5 separate regions of the Homo sapiens genome follow, and all the other regions are linked to region 1. The links are contacts of gene promoters, found by promoter capture Hi-C in human tissues and cell types (Jung and others, 2019). All regions are on one chromosome and are shown on one strand. Each heading gives the region's core, a stretch centred on a gene start or on the middle of the fragment in contact. The rest is flanking DNA. Distances are from core to core; before and after follow the strand shown.

Region 1 (2,620 bases), core at 57-2,556:
GAATATTCCCATTACAAGAAAGTGGCCAGTCTCTCCGAGGAACAAACTGTTTTCCTTTTCCACCATGAAATAGATCTTATCTTTTCATTAGTTAATATAGGTGTACCTTCAAATGGCAATAACATTGTTCTGCTTTGTGGCTTCTCAAGTAGTAAACCCAGAAAACATCAGCTACCGTGGATTTTATTATAAATCATTGACATTCCTTTGGTGATTCACAAATGCCAAAAAATAAATGTCATGTTCCCCAGGGTTTGAAGAAAGACACTGTAGCTTTTGGATTCAGCAACGGATCTTTCAAGAAAACAGTATGGAGGGATGACTCACTCCCCCCATGGAGGCTGCCCTCTAGTTCGTCCTTTAGAGGAAGCATGACCAAGGGTCTGCTGGTACTTTTCTCTCCCTCTCTAAGAATTTCCTCAGGAGAGGAAAAAGTTAGCTTTCTTTTCTCTGCTCCTGAGTGCCATGGCCTGCAGTACGTGACCAGTCCTTGGCACAGAGTCACTCAGGGCTCATGGTAGATGCTTAGCGGTCACAGCCAGTAGCTGCGCAGTGTGGCAGCAGCTGAGATCCATACTGCAGCCTGAAAGTTGTGTTTCAGCTTCTGAGGTTACAAGTGTATCCAGTGTTTACATCAGAGATAAAGCCCCCTTTCCCCTCTCTCCTACGGGAGCCCTCAACAAGACAGATACACGGGTTGGGTGGAGTGAGACCACATCCAGCAGAGGCAAAGCTTGCTAAAAGAGAGAGGAGGAGGAGGGGGAGAGGGAGGAGGCGGCACGGCGTCCCTTGGCAGCTCCGTGCATGCTGCGGCAGTTGCAACAGGAGAACCGAGTACCAGTTGCTCAACACTTTATCACTTTGCATTGCTCTTTCTCCTCCCTTAAGTGAATTTCCATTTTGAGGGTACAGCTCCACAGGAGAAAGGTGTGGTGGTGGTAGTGGTGGAGGGTGTCTGTGGGGGGGATGGTGGTGCGACGGGAGTTGGAATGTCCAGTGTGGGGAAGCAAAGGAGTGCCTACTAGGATGCGAATACCACTTGGCCCTGGGCTCGCTCCGCTTTAGCCTTCCCCTCTCGCTGGGGAGAAACAGGCGGTTTGTGAGGGAGACTGAGAGAGGGGCGTGTTTGTGGTGGTGGCGGCCCATCGGGGGTCCTTGTCCTCTCCGAATACCCGGACTGCTGAGGGGAAGGGCCGGGGGGGCCCCGGCGGTTGCCATGGTGACGCAGGGTCGGCGGCTCAGCGCCGTAGAGACAAAGCCGCCCGCCCGCCAGCCCGCTAGCTCCTCGCGCGAGCTCCTCCTCCACGGGAACCTCCCTCCCCTCCCAGGCGCCGCCGCAGCCGGAGCGGCTCCCGGGCCCTGGGCCGCCGCCGGCCAGGTAAGGCGATCGCGCCCGCGGCCGGGGAGGGGTCGGCGGGACGCCGGGCCTCCCCAACGCTGGGGCAGCAGCCAGCCCCGCAGTCCTGGACGGCGCCGGGCCGCCCAAGCGCGCCGAGGAGAGGGGGCGGCAAACTTCGGGCCGAGCGGCGCCGGGGCCCGCGCGCGGAGTCTCCCTCCGGGCACCACGGGGGCCGCCGTCCTGGCACCAACTTGAGGGGCTGTGCGGCGGAGGGCGGCTGCGGAGCGCCCGCGCGGGCTGCACCTGCTCAGGGAGCTGCCCCTCTGTTGTTGTTGTTATTTTCCTTCTTGGCGTGCCATCGAGGCTTTTGGGGGAAAAAAAGGTATGAAAGTATTTACCTTTGGACTTTCATGTTTCATGGCATTCTCTTTGAGGAGGGGTTGGGAGGGTAGTAAGAGGGACAAGCGAAAGATTTTTACGAATCTCTGAAAAGTGAGCCCATTTTTATGCCTGTGGCTGAAGCATTTTGAGGAGGCTTCTGAAGTTCGTTTGGATATTGAATCGAAAGACCTTTTTTTCTTTGGAAGGTGCAGTTGCACCTATAACTGGATGGTAAGGGTAGCCCGGCTTTCCCCGACTAGCAAGACCAGAATGTAGAGCAGTACCGATACTTTGTCAAGGAGATACTTGGCACCGAGGTCATTGCTTTTGTTTCTAGAAGGTATTGTGTTCATGCTGTAAGGAACTGGAAAGTGCCTTTTGTTTTTATGTGTAGGGAGGCAATCCAAAGCACCTCTGGAGGCAGGTAGCTGGGCGGTGTTTGCATCGGTGTTTATGAGTGGGATGATGAGGACCACGATGCGGTTGCCACTGGGGCACTGGATAGGTTATAGGTACCTTTCTCAGTGGCCCCAACCCTTGCAATCATTTCGTGATAGTTTGTTGCAGACGCGAAGCACAGATTTAAATTGTGACTGTGAAGACTTTTTTTTTTGGTACTTAGACATCATCTTACATGTAGTAATATGAAAGAAAACAGATACATTTTCAGAAATACAGTTGATCAATTCAGAAGGAAATTGTATATATGTTAATAAGATTTGTTTTAAATCATATTTAAACAATATGAGATGTCATATTGATAACTGGAAAATAATCTAACATATAAAATTGTATATCCAACTTAGTAAAATAATGTATAAGTTGGAATAGGTCATTTAAAGAACTATATGGAATGCAAGAAATTATATTTTTGCTAGAGAGTAATTAATGAAAACAGTA
Region 2 (2,620 bases), core at 73-2,572, 180 kb after region 1:
ATTTCAGCATAGAAGTTCCTGCCTTTAAAAAAAAAAAAAAAAAAGGCAGCCTGGCATGGTGGCTCACGCCTGTAATCCCAGCACTCTGGGAGGCCAAGGCGGGTAGATCACCTGAGGTCAGGAGTTCAAGACCAGCCTGGTCAACACAGTGAAACCCTTTCTCTACAAAAATTAGCTGGGCATGATGGCAGGTGTCTGTAATCCCAGCTACTCGGGAGGCTGAGACAGGAGAATTGCTTGAACCTGGGAGGTGGAGTTTGCAGTGAGCTGAGATCACACCATTAAACTCCAGGCTGGGCAACAGAGCAAGACTTCATCTCAAAAAAGAAAAGAAGAAAAGAGAAGAAAAGAAAAGAGAAGAGAAGAGAAAAGAAGAGGCTTGCTTTACATGGTCCTTGAAGGACTGTGTTGTGCCTGTGGAGAGACTTTCCACTAAGTGCCTCAAATCAAGCCTGAGACCAATATCTCTGTGTTTTGTTTTTGTGTCACTTGCTGGATTATGCGGTTTCTTCCTCATGTTCAACAAAGGAATTGTTTCACCTCCCTCTTTCCTCCTTGGCAGAGGATGGACACTCTCTCTACAGGCTTTTAGTTTCTAAGAGAAAAAAAGAAAGCAAAGACAAAGCACGAGAAATAAGAGTTATTTCTATTTATTTGGTTCATTCGGTGAACAAACAAGCCCATAACTGGAAAGTACAGGGTGACTAAGAAGTAGCCCTCAGGGAAAAACCTGATGGGAAATTTTATTTAAAAACACAATTTACATAGCCACACTTTGGGCTTTCCTTCCAGCCCTTCTGTGGTTCTCAATGGCCCATGGGTGTTCAGGCCTTAACGCTGGGGAGTGCCGCCAGCAGTGGAGGTGTTCGCGAAGGTTCTACTGGCTTGAGGGAAGGGCTGTGGTAATGGGAACCCGAGACCTGGAGGCCAGCAGATAAGAGCTCTCCGCTGGGGAGCAGAGTCAGAAGGGGCTGAGCACAGAAGGCTTGACTCTCAGCCAGAGCTCAACAAGGGGCAGCTGCTGCGGTAGTCCGTGGGCAGGCCTAGGTTAAGTGCGTTCTTTTCACTCAAAAGCCCTTCTCTGGAAAGGAGGCTCAGAAGGCACACTTGGGGCAGAGGGGAACCCCCGCCTTCCCCTTTTACAGAACTTCCTCATCCTGCAGATCAGTCCAGCCAGGAAGTCAGGCTGGGTAGAGAGCTGGGTGCCTGGGAGTACCATGGGTTTTGCCCCCATTGCTGGCAGCAGTCATCAGGTGAGCTATTTCCAGCCTATCACAAACTTCTTTCTGCCTATTTATGATCCATTCAGCATCTGACAGGTGTCTAAGGCAGACAGCAGAAACGTGTTCACTGGCCCCCCTCCCTCGGGACTTTTTCTTAAAGGGCATGCCTTACTCTCATTTCCTTTTTCTCCTAATCCTCTCTCCTCCCCTGAATTCTCCCATCACTAGTTCTCTCCCTCCTTGTAGAACCACCTTCTGCCCCTGCATCCCAGTCCCCCCAGACCCTCAGTGAGAAACTGTGTAGAACTCCAGAGAGGCAAGCAAGGTCCACTGTGAGAAATGGTATTCAATGGCCAGGCACGGCGGCTCATGCCTGTAATCCCAGCACTTTGGGAGGCTGAGGTGGGAGGATCACTTGAGCTCAGGAGTTCGAAACCAGCCTGGGCAACATAGTGAGACACTCCCCCAGCAACTCCAGAAAAAGGAAACTGTATTCTACTGTGTAAACTTCTTGAGAATGGTCTTTTCTTATGCACCACTTACCAGCTGCTTAGTGAATGTTTAATAGTGAATTAAAACTTCCCTCTCTCCACACCCGTTCCCCATGAGTCCCTGACTTGGGAGGGGCAGGTGAGAGAACTAATAAAACATTCTAGAGCTTTCTCCCCTGGCTCCCAAACTCTGACCAGCTTCTCAAATGTCTAGGTTCACAATGTTCTGCCATGCTCTGTCAGGATGCTCTCTGAGATAAATTAAATGATGAAGCCCTGGCCGTGATGCAAATTGCAATCAGACAGGAAGGTTTGAGGGTCAGAAGAAAGGGAGAGGGACCTGGCTAGCTTTGTTCCTTGCCCAAGGTTACCAAATGCTTGCCTTGGCAGTGAGAATGCGTAACCACAATGTTTTCTAATGATTTTCGGTTTTTCTCTTTCTATAGTCACAGCAGAGAAAACATGAAGGTGACAGCCAGTGGTTTCAGAAAGGCAAGAAGCTCTTCCTCTGCATTCACCTTTCTTTTCCCTTTTCACTGAAAGCGAAGATCAACATACGGGTAAGCCCCTCTCGTACATTCGAGGAAGAACACAAGTCAGGACTCAGAGCTACTGAATTTCCACTCCCACTCCCACGCCAGACACACGCTGCGAAATACTGTCTGGTTTTTTATGATAAGGTAGCTGTAGTTAGCCTGAAAATGCTTCCTCAGGAATGGCCTTCATCAGAGATCTCTTCATACTCAGTATGAGGACATGAGGAAGAATATGCTACGTGTGAAAATACACCTTGGCGTTCAACTCTGTGGGTTAAGAAGGGGTTCCTGTGATGGCAAGCTTTTAGGTTATTGAGCAGCAGATTGGATACTTCTGTTTTTCAACAACATAGGTTTCCATGTAATATGA
Region 3 (2,620 bases), core at 52-2,551, 160 kb after region 1:
TTAATCCTCCTTTATGCCAAATACTTCACATTTCAATTTGGTATTTCAGAATCTATTTAAATAAATCACTAGAGCTTAATGGAAAATCAAAATCAAATTAAATAAATGGGCTAACTATTCAGCTGCTAAGTTTTACTTCAGCCATTACAAGGTTAGGAAAAACCACGGAGCAATTTATAACTAACCCGACTGCTCAGGGAGAGACCTCTATATCAGCTGTCCCCTCCTGAGCATACTTAACCCATCTCAAATGACACATGGAGAAAACATCAGTTCTTTGACAAATACCTACACAAGAACAATTTAAATTGCAAACCCAAATCAATATCAAACACACATCCTGCTGCATTTTAAGTAGAAATAGGGGAGATAGCAATGTAGAATTCATTGCAAATCATAAAAGTTTATTTACCAAGCTTAATGCTCAGAAGGGAATTAAACTCCTTAAAACTGAGAGAGTGTTATATAATGCTGAGAATTAAGGGAGAAGTAGCAAGTCTGAGTTAAGAAACCATGTTTTCCTGAACCCATCTTAACCTTCAGGGTCTCCAAGGTTCACAAGCATCTCTAGAACTCTCTGTTTACTCTCCCACTTTCTTCTTTATTAGCAATGCTGCTATTCCATCTTTAGGACCACTGCCAGACCAAAACTTCCTGAAAAGGTAATTTCCCTTCATCTCTTAAAGCTTTCTTGTCCTTGTTTTCCCAATCCATCTTCCTTTTCTTCTCTTTCTTTACTTCAATGTGCTGAAGGCACTTTTAGCTGGTGGTATATTAGGCAAATTTTGTTGCAGTAACAACCCCAAATTTTAATGATTTATGAAAATGAATCATTTCTCAGTCCTGGGACTGTAGGTCAGCTGCGCCTCAGCTGTGTCTCACCTAAACTTTTTGGCTTCCTCTAGACTTGATGGGGTTTGGTTGTAAGCTTCAGGTCAGATTCAAGTCTGCTTTGTGTGTTTTTCATTCTGAGACCCAGGCTGAAGAAGCAGTGGCCGCCTGGGGCATCCTTTTCTTATGGAGAGTAGCAGGAGTGCCAGACAGGAAGCGAAAAGACATAATGCCTCTGAGTCTCTCTTTGTGCTGGCATGCCACCATTGTGCCACACCCCATTCTTCAGTCAACGCACATCCTATGGCCCAGCCCAAGGTCAAGGGATGGGGAGATGTACTCCATTCAGGAGGGTGGACCAGGAACATGAAGACTGACTGAAGAATAATATAATCTACAATAGATGGGAGAAGGTGGAGTACAGTGATCCCTCAATCACTCATATAAAGAAACATAAAATAGTTCTCCAACATTTATTATGCTAGGGATGCTCTGCCCTTATTTCAGCACTCAAGGTTGCCTCAACTTCTCTGGAAAGAGAAGGTGGACAGAAATATAACTGGTCAATAGTCATCATAATAATGCTTGGAATTTATTGTGCAACTGCCACGTGCACAGTTACTTTACATATATTCATGTAATGAGTACCCATATTGGACTGCAACAAATGTAACTTTCTATGACTAAACTTAATTTCTATTTCAGTTTCTGTTTAGTGCTCTCATTCCAAAGCGTTTCAGAAATCTAATTTTTTTTTTTTTTTTTTGAGACGGAGTCCCGCTCTGTCACCCAGGCTAGAGTGCAGTGGCTCGGTCTCGGCTCACTGCAAGCTCCGCCTCCTGGGATCACACCATTCTCCTGCCTCAGCCTTCCGAGTAGCTGGAACTACAGGCGCCCGCCACCACGCCCGGCTAATTTTTTGTATTTTTAGTAGGGACGGGGTTTCACCGTGTTAGCCAGGATGGTCTCAGTCTCTTGACCTCGTGATCCGCCCGCCTCGGCCTCCCAAAGTGCTGGGATTACAGGCGTGAGCCACCGCGCCCAGCCCAGAAATCTAATCTTTTTCCCCGCAAGGGTGGAGGTGGTGGGGCGGGGCGTGGCGTGGTTATCACCTGTCGGTGCCGGCGTGGTCCTGTGCGTCCTCTCTCCTGCCTGGCCTCCAGTCATCCATGTGTGTAGTACTACCGCTGCCCCCACCTCATCCTGATGAGGCCCTGTGGATCTGGCTCTCTTCGTCACTCCTTTGCCCTTCTGGGGAGCAGGGACAATATCTGGCTGTGTTGGCCCAGTCCCTTTCTGCCTTGCTATGCCACCTAGCAATTTCTGCTCTATTGCTTCCCACCATGCTGGGCTCAAGGGACTTTGAGGTCTTATGGTCTTCGAAGGTTTCACACATGTTCTTGGGTCTTTAAAGCTATTGGGGTTCCTATCAGTCATCCTTTTCTCAGTTGGCTTGGCCCAAGATGGGGTGGAGAGGAGCAGGAGGCAGCGCTTTTTCTGGAACCATATTGCAATGATTAACTCTCTTGATTCTTATCAGTCTCTTCTCTCAATCCGTGGAACTGTTTCTGGGTTCAACTGGGGTGATTTGGCTTTATGGAGTGTTCCCAAATGTGTGGTTTATGAGATAATTTTATGTCCTGATACCTTCATATTTATCGCAGGTGAGAAAGTTCATTTTGAGGCAGATGAAGTCACTCTCCAACCTTGACTTAGTGAAGAAGTGGAAAAAGGAGAATTTGTAGGATTCAAAAGCTGAAACTTTCTCCTCTAGGCTAAACTGGCTCTA
Region 4 (2,620 bases), core at 1-2,500, 150 kb before region 1:
CTGTATCTAGCTCAAGGTTTGTAAACACAGCAATCAGCACCCTGTGTCTAGCTCAGGGTTTGTGAATGCACCAATCGACACTCTGTATCTAGCTACTCTGGTGGGGCCTTGGAGAACCTTTGTGTCGACACTCTGTATCTAGCTAATCTGGTGGGGACGTGGAGAACCTTTGTGTCTAGCTCAGGGATTGTAAACGCACCAATCAGCGCCCTATCAAAACAGACTGCTCGGCTCTACCAATCAGCAGGATGTGGGTGGGGCCAGATAAGAGAATAAAAGCAGGCTGCCGGAACCAGCAGTGGCAAACCGCTCGGGTCTCCTTTCACGTTTTTGGAATGTGTTTTGCAATAAACCTTGCTAGTGCTTACTCTGTGGGTCTACATTGCTTTTTTGAGCTTTAATAGTCACTACAAAAATCTGCATCTTCACTCATAAGGCAGCGAGACCACGAACGCACCAGAAAGAAAAAACTCCAAACACATGTAAACATCAGAAGGAATAAGCTCCTGACGCGCCACCTTCAGAGCTGTAACACACCGCGAGGGTACGTGGCTTCATTCATAATTTCAATGAGATCAAGAACCTACCAGTTCCAGACATACTAGCGCTTTGGGAGACCAAGGCAGGCGGATTTCTTGAGTCCAGGAGTTCATAGACCAGCCTGGGGAACATGGCAACACTATCTACAAAAAAATACGAAAACTAGCTAGACATGGTAGTGCGTGCTTGTAGTCTCAGCTATATGAAGGGCTGAGGTAGGAGAATGGCTTGAGCATGAGGAGGCAGAGGTTGCAGTGAACTGAGATTGCACCACTGCACTCTGGGTGACAAGTGAGACCCTGTCTCAAAAACAAGGGTACTGAATCAAACAAGTATTTAAGGCCTAAACTCAGGGTGACTCTGAGACCCAAACAGTGGGCTCCATGTCAACATCAACCCCTTTATACGAAGATTCCCCAATAAAAATATAAATATTCACAATCACCCTGGGGTCTGCATGGAAGATTGATGTATAACACTTGAGAGCTTACGGATATGTCCATGGGTTACCTACGTTGTTTTAATACCTACTACAGTCTGTACCCTAGATACTCGAAGAAGAATGTTCTTTTACTAGGATACTGCATCTTAGTAAATTCACCTTAGTACCCTGGGGTGGTTGCCAGGGAGGGTACTAACAGAAGTTTGCTTGTTTGGTGGTTGGGCAAGTAATATTACTAGTAATTACTAGCAAAGGATTCCAGTTATTGCATGCAGACTACACATTTTATATGTAGGTATGGGGTTTTACTATTTATTTATTTATTTAGAGATGGAGTCTCACTCTGTTGCCCAGGCTGGAGTGCAGCGGAATGATCTCGTCTCAGGGCAACCTCCGCCTCCCAGGTTCAGGTTGTTCTCCTGCCTCAGTCTCCCGAGTAGCTGAGATTACAGGCACCTGCCACCATGCCCGACTAATTTTTTTGTATTTTTAGTAGAGACGGGGTTTAACCATCTTGGCCAGGTTGGTCTTGAACTCTTGACCTGTGATCCACCTGCCTCGGCCTCTCAAAGTGCTGGAATTACAGGCGTGAGCCACTGCACCTGGCCAGGGTTTTATTGTTTAGAAAATATTTTCATGTATTTGACCTCATTTGATCCTTACCACATGTGGTCAGCCAGGTAGGGTATCTATTCCCTGGAATCAGAATGCTTCGGTTTGACTCTGACGTCACCATTTATTAGCTATGTGTTCTTGGGCAAGTTACTTCAACTTTTTTATTACTATTTTTTTTTTTTTTTTTTTTTTTTTTTTGAGTCAGAGTCTCACTCTGTCACCCAGGCTGGAGTGCAGTGGCACAATTTCGGCTCACTGCAACCTCCACCTCCTGGATTCAGGTGATTCTCCTGCCTCAGCCTCCTGAGTAACTGGGATTATAAGTGCACGCCACTGTGCCTGGCTAATTTTAATATTTTTAGTAGAGACAGGATTTTGCCATGTTAGCCAGACTGGTCTTGAATTCCTGACTTCAGATGATCCACCTGCCTCGGCCTCCCAAAGTGCTGGGATTACAGGCATGAGCTACCACGCCAGGCCCACTTTTTTCTTTCTTTCTTTCTTTCTTTTTTTTTTTTAAATAAATAGAGATGGAGTTTCCCTATGTTGCCCAGGCTGGTCTCAAACTTCTGGGCTCAAGGGATCCTCCCAACTTCACCTCCCAAGATGTTGGGATTATAGGTGTGAGCCACCTCATCCAGTCTACTGAAACTTTCTATACCTCAGTATCTTCATCTGCAAAATAGAGATCACTGTAGTACTTACTTCATAGGGATGTGATGAAGATTAAATGAGATTGTGATTACTTTAAAACTATGCCTGGGCCGGGCGCGGTGGCTCACGCCTGTAATTCCAGCACTTTGGGAGGCTGAGGCGGGTGGATCACAAGGTCAGGAGTTCGAGACTAGGCTGGCCAACATGGTGAAACCGTGTCTGTACTAAAAATACAAAAAAAAAAAAAAAAAAAAAATTAGCCAGGCATCGTGGGAGGCACTTGTAATTCCAGCTCTTGGGAGGCTGGGGTAGGAGAATTGCTCGAACCCGGGAGGCGGACATTGCAGTGAGCTGAGATCAGCCACTGCA
Region 5 (2,620 bases), core at 65-2,564, 130 kb before region 1:
GAAGGATGCTGAGTCATATGGTTTTTGGTTTTGAGAGGGTTGAAAATGGAGACTCAACTCAATTTAGGAGCTATCCCATCATAACTAGTAGCAAAACACGTCACTACTTGAGTCTCAACAAAAGACAGAAAAGGTATGAAGTTGGGGAACAAATAGCTGCCAAGGATTATTATTCTATGACAAAGACATTGTGTTGTGATTATAAAATACAATGTAAATACATAAATACACTAACTCATCACATGTTGGGTTTTTTTTTTTTTGGCTTGGTTTTTTGTTTTGAGATGGAGTCTCACTCTATTCCCAGGCTGGAGTGCAGTGGCTTGATCTGGGGTCCCTGCAACCTCTGCCTCCCAGGTTCAAGCAATTCTCCTGCCTTAGCCTCCTGCACATGTTGGTTTTAATAACAATAAAAAAACCCACTTGGGCGTAGCCATAATCCAGCGTTACTAAAGGAACTAATTCTACCCAGAGTTAAAGTATCTCGCCTTTTGGCTATTAATGTCAGTGAAAAGATTTAGTGCAGTTTTGTAGACAGTAAGATTGAAATCAGACTTATCTCCTTAGTAGTGGGCAACAAGATTTAATTGAGCATATGACAATCAGTAATTTGAATGACGACTTTTAAGAACTACATTAACCTTGTTATAGAAAGAAAAAGTTAATCCTTTGAAGTATATAGAAACTTCCTAGCTATAAAATATTCTCCTGGGACTACTGGGAGCTTAGAAGTAGAAAAAAAAAAAAGAAAAAAAAGAGAAAGAGAAACAAAAACAAAAACAAAAAACCCCAAAACCCTAAGCCAAGGAGTAGGTTGTAAAACCAAGAACAATGCTCTTTAAACCTCAGGGTTTCAGACCAGGAGAGCCCGATGCATCAGATCACCACTAGAGGGCGGCGTGGAACAAGATTTTGTGCACCACTAAACCTCAGTCTTCATTAACTCAACATTGACTCACCCACAAAAGAAGAGCCTAAATATTGACGCTGTCATGGTTTTAAAAATAACATCTATGTAGCTCTATATCCCCATGCCCCAGAAGTTTATATGCCATACTGCTTTTGGAACTGGCTGTAAATATCATAGTTAATTTGCAATTTAATATTTAACATTATAACTTTACCGAAAGAACGAGAGCCAGAAAACTCATCTTCACCAATGCATGTTACAAACACACTCGCTGTATAATTTACTACTGCCTTGTGCTTCAGAGTAATCCAAGTTTATGATTACCAAGAACAACCTCCCCGCTAGGTTACTAAATGACATAAATTCACTGGCTTGATGGGAGCTAAGCTATGATGCAAAGGCAAAAGGATGATACAGTGGACTTTGAGGACTTGGGGGAAAGGGTAGGAGGTGGGTGAGGGGCAAGACTACACATTGGGTACAGTGTACGCTGCTAGGGTGATGGGGGCACCAAAAATCTCAGAAATCACCTCTAAATAACGTCTTCATGTAACCAAACACCACCTGTTCCCCCAAAACCCACTGAAATTAAAATAATGAAACACTAAAAAAAGACTATAAGAACAATTCATAGTCACAGTTACTGTTCAAATATACCACAGACACTTTTGTGTCATGTAGAAAAAGTTACTATCATGATGGACAGGATTTAATTGAAACTCTGTGCATTGGTTGCTTTCTGGAGATTAAGGTCAATATAGTCATTCCAGATAAAGTAATTACATGTAAATCATATTTATCAGCATATTTAACTAGTAAATTCAAGTAAAATAAAATCAGGGTAAGTATTTTGAGTGCTGCATTATCAAGTCTGCAAAATATTATAAGCTTTACTTTTCTTATAAGAACACTGAATGAATCCACTCTATATATCCAATAATTTAAAAATATGAGTATTTGCAAGAATGAAATTTCATCATTTTTTTTCTTTTCTTTTTTTTTTTTTTGAGACAGGGTCTCACTCTGTCACCCAGGCTGGAGTGCAGTGGCGTGATCTCGGCTCACTGCAATCTCTGCCTCCTGGGTTCAAATGATTCTTCTGCCTCAGTCTCCCGAGTAGCTGAGACTACAGGTGGGCCATCACGCTGGGCTAATTTTTGTATTTTTGGTAGAGACAGGGTTTCACCACGTTGGCCAGGCTGGCCTCGAACTCCTGACCTCAGGTGATCCACCCACCTTGACCTCCCAAAGTGCTGGGATTACAGGTGTGAGCCACCATGCCCGGCAGAAATTTTTTCATTTTGGTTTAAAGACTAAAACTGTAATTGTGAAAAAAATTTCTGGAAAATTTTTGTTTGCTGGATGATGTTAATGACTTAAAATGAGTAAAATCTAAATGTTACATGATTGAAAAATGTACATATATATCAGCCTAGTTATGTTATTAAAATGACTCCATATAAAATTTTAAAAAAATTCACTGGCTTTAATCTACATTCATGCCCTGTATTTCCTGATGTCCTTGATGTAGTTTTTCCCAGGTTGGTTAGCTACACACAGTCATTTTCCTATATCAAGTGAATTCAGTTCTTCCTGAGTATACAACCCATAAAGATAAAGGTAACCAAAAGAGTTTCTCCTCTTCCAGACACCAGTGACATGCTATAGTCAGTAACTATTTAGTAACACTAGGTGATTTAATCTTTATGG

Evidence for each region. Contacts are between HindIII fragments. The study calls those that stand out against the background at their distance.
Region 2: a fragment that was not itself captured here is called in contact with the fragment with the promoter of RNF182 in region 1 in 1 of the 25 tissues and cell types used here (hippocampus).
Region 3: a contact is called between a fragment that was not itself captured here and the fragment with the promoter of RNF182 in region 1, in 1 of the 25 tissues and cell types used here (mesenchymal stem cells).
Region 4: a fragment that was not itself captured here is called in contact with the fragment with the promoter of RNF182 in region 1 in 1 of the 25 tissues and cell types used here (H1 embryonic stem cells).
Region 5: a fragment that was not itself captured here is called in contact with the fragment with the promoter of RNF182 in region 1 in 1 of the 25 tissues and cell types used here (mesendoderm cells).

The regions. Positions count from the first base shown.
Region 1 is chr6:13,923,646-13,926,265 of GRCh38, forward strand. RNF182 (ring finger protein 182) reads left to right here and starts at 1,307. Exons shown (of 3, transcript NM_152737.4): 1 at 1,307-1,378. RefSeq lists an enhancer at 202-702. The HindIII fragment of the contact is 4,770 bases long and covers 63-2,620 here.
Region 2 is chr6:14,107,986-14,110,605 of GRCh38, forward strand. It overlaps LOC124901265 (a long non-coding RNA gene), which reads left to right and starts at 778. Exons shown (of 2, transcript XR_007059464.1): 1 at 778-1,253; 2 at 2,161-2,620. RefSeq lists a cis regulatory region at 643-1,430 and an enhancer at 1,067-1,206. The HindIII fragment of the contact is 4,101 bases long and covers 1-2,620 here.
Region 3 is chr6:14,087,921-14,090,540 of GRCh38, forward strand. No RefSeq gene overlaps it. Among named protein-coding and RNA genes, the nearest start is that of CD83, 29 kb to the right of the region's middle. RefSeq lists enhancers at 722-771, 808-1,309. The HindIII fragment of the contact is 4,114 bases long and covers 1-2,620 here.
Region 4 is chr6:13,773,022-13,775,641 of GRCh38, forward strand. No RefSeq gene overlaps it. Among named protein-coding and RNA genes, the nearest start is that of MCUR1, 40 kb to the right of the region's middle. The HindIII fragment of the contact is 9,980 bases long and covers 1-2,620 here.
Region 5 is chr6:13,794,389-13,797,008 of GRCh38, forward strand. The region is part of intron 6 of MCUR1 (mitochondrial calcium uniporter regulator 1); the gene reads right to left. Among named protein-coding and RNA genes, the nearest start is that of MCUR1, 19 kb to the right of the region's middle. The HindIII fragment of the contact is 3,316 bases long and covers 1-2,620 here.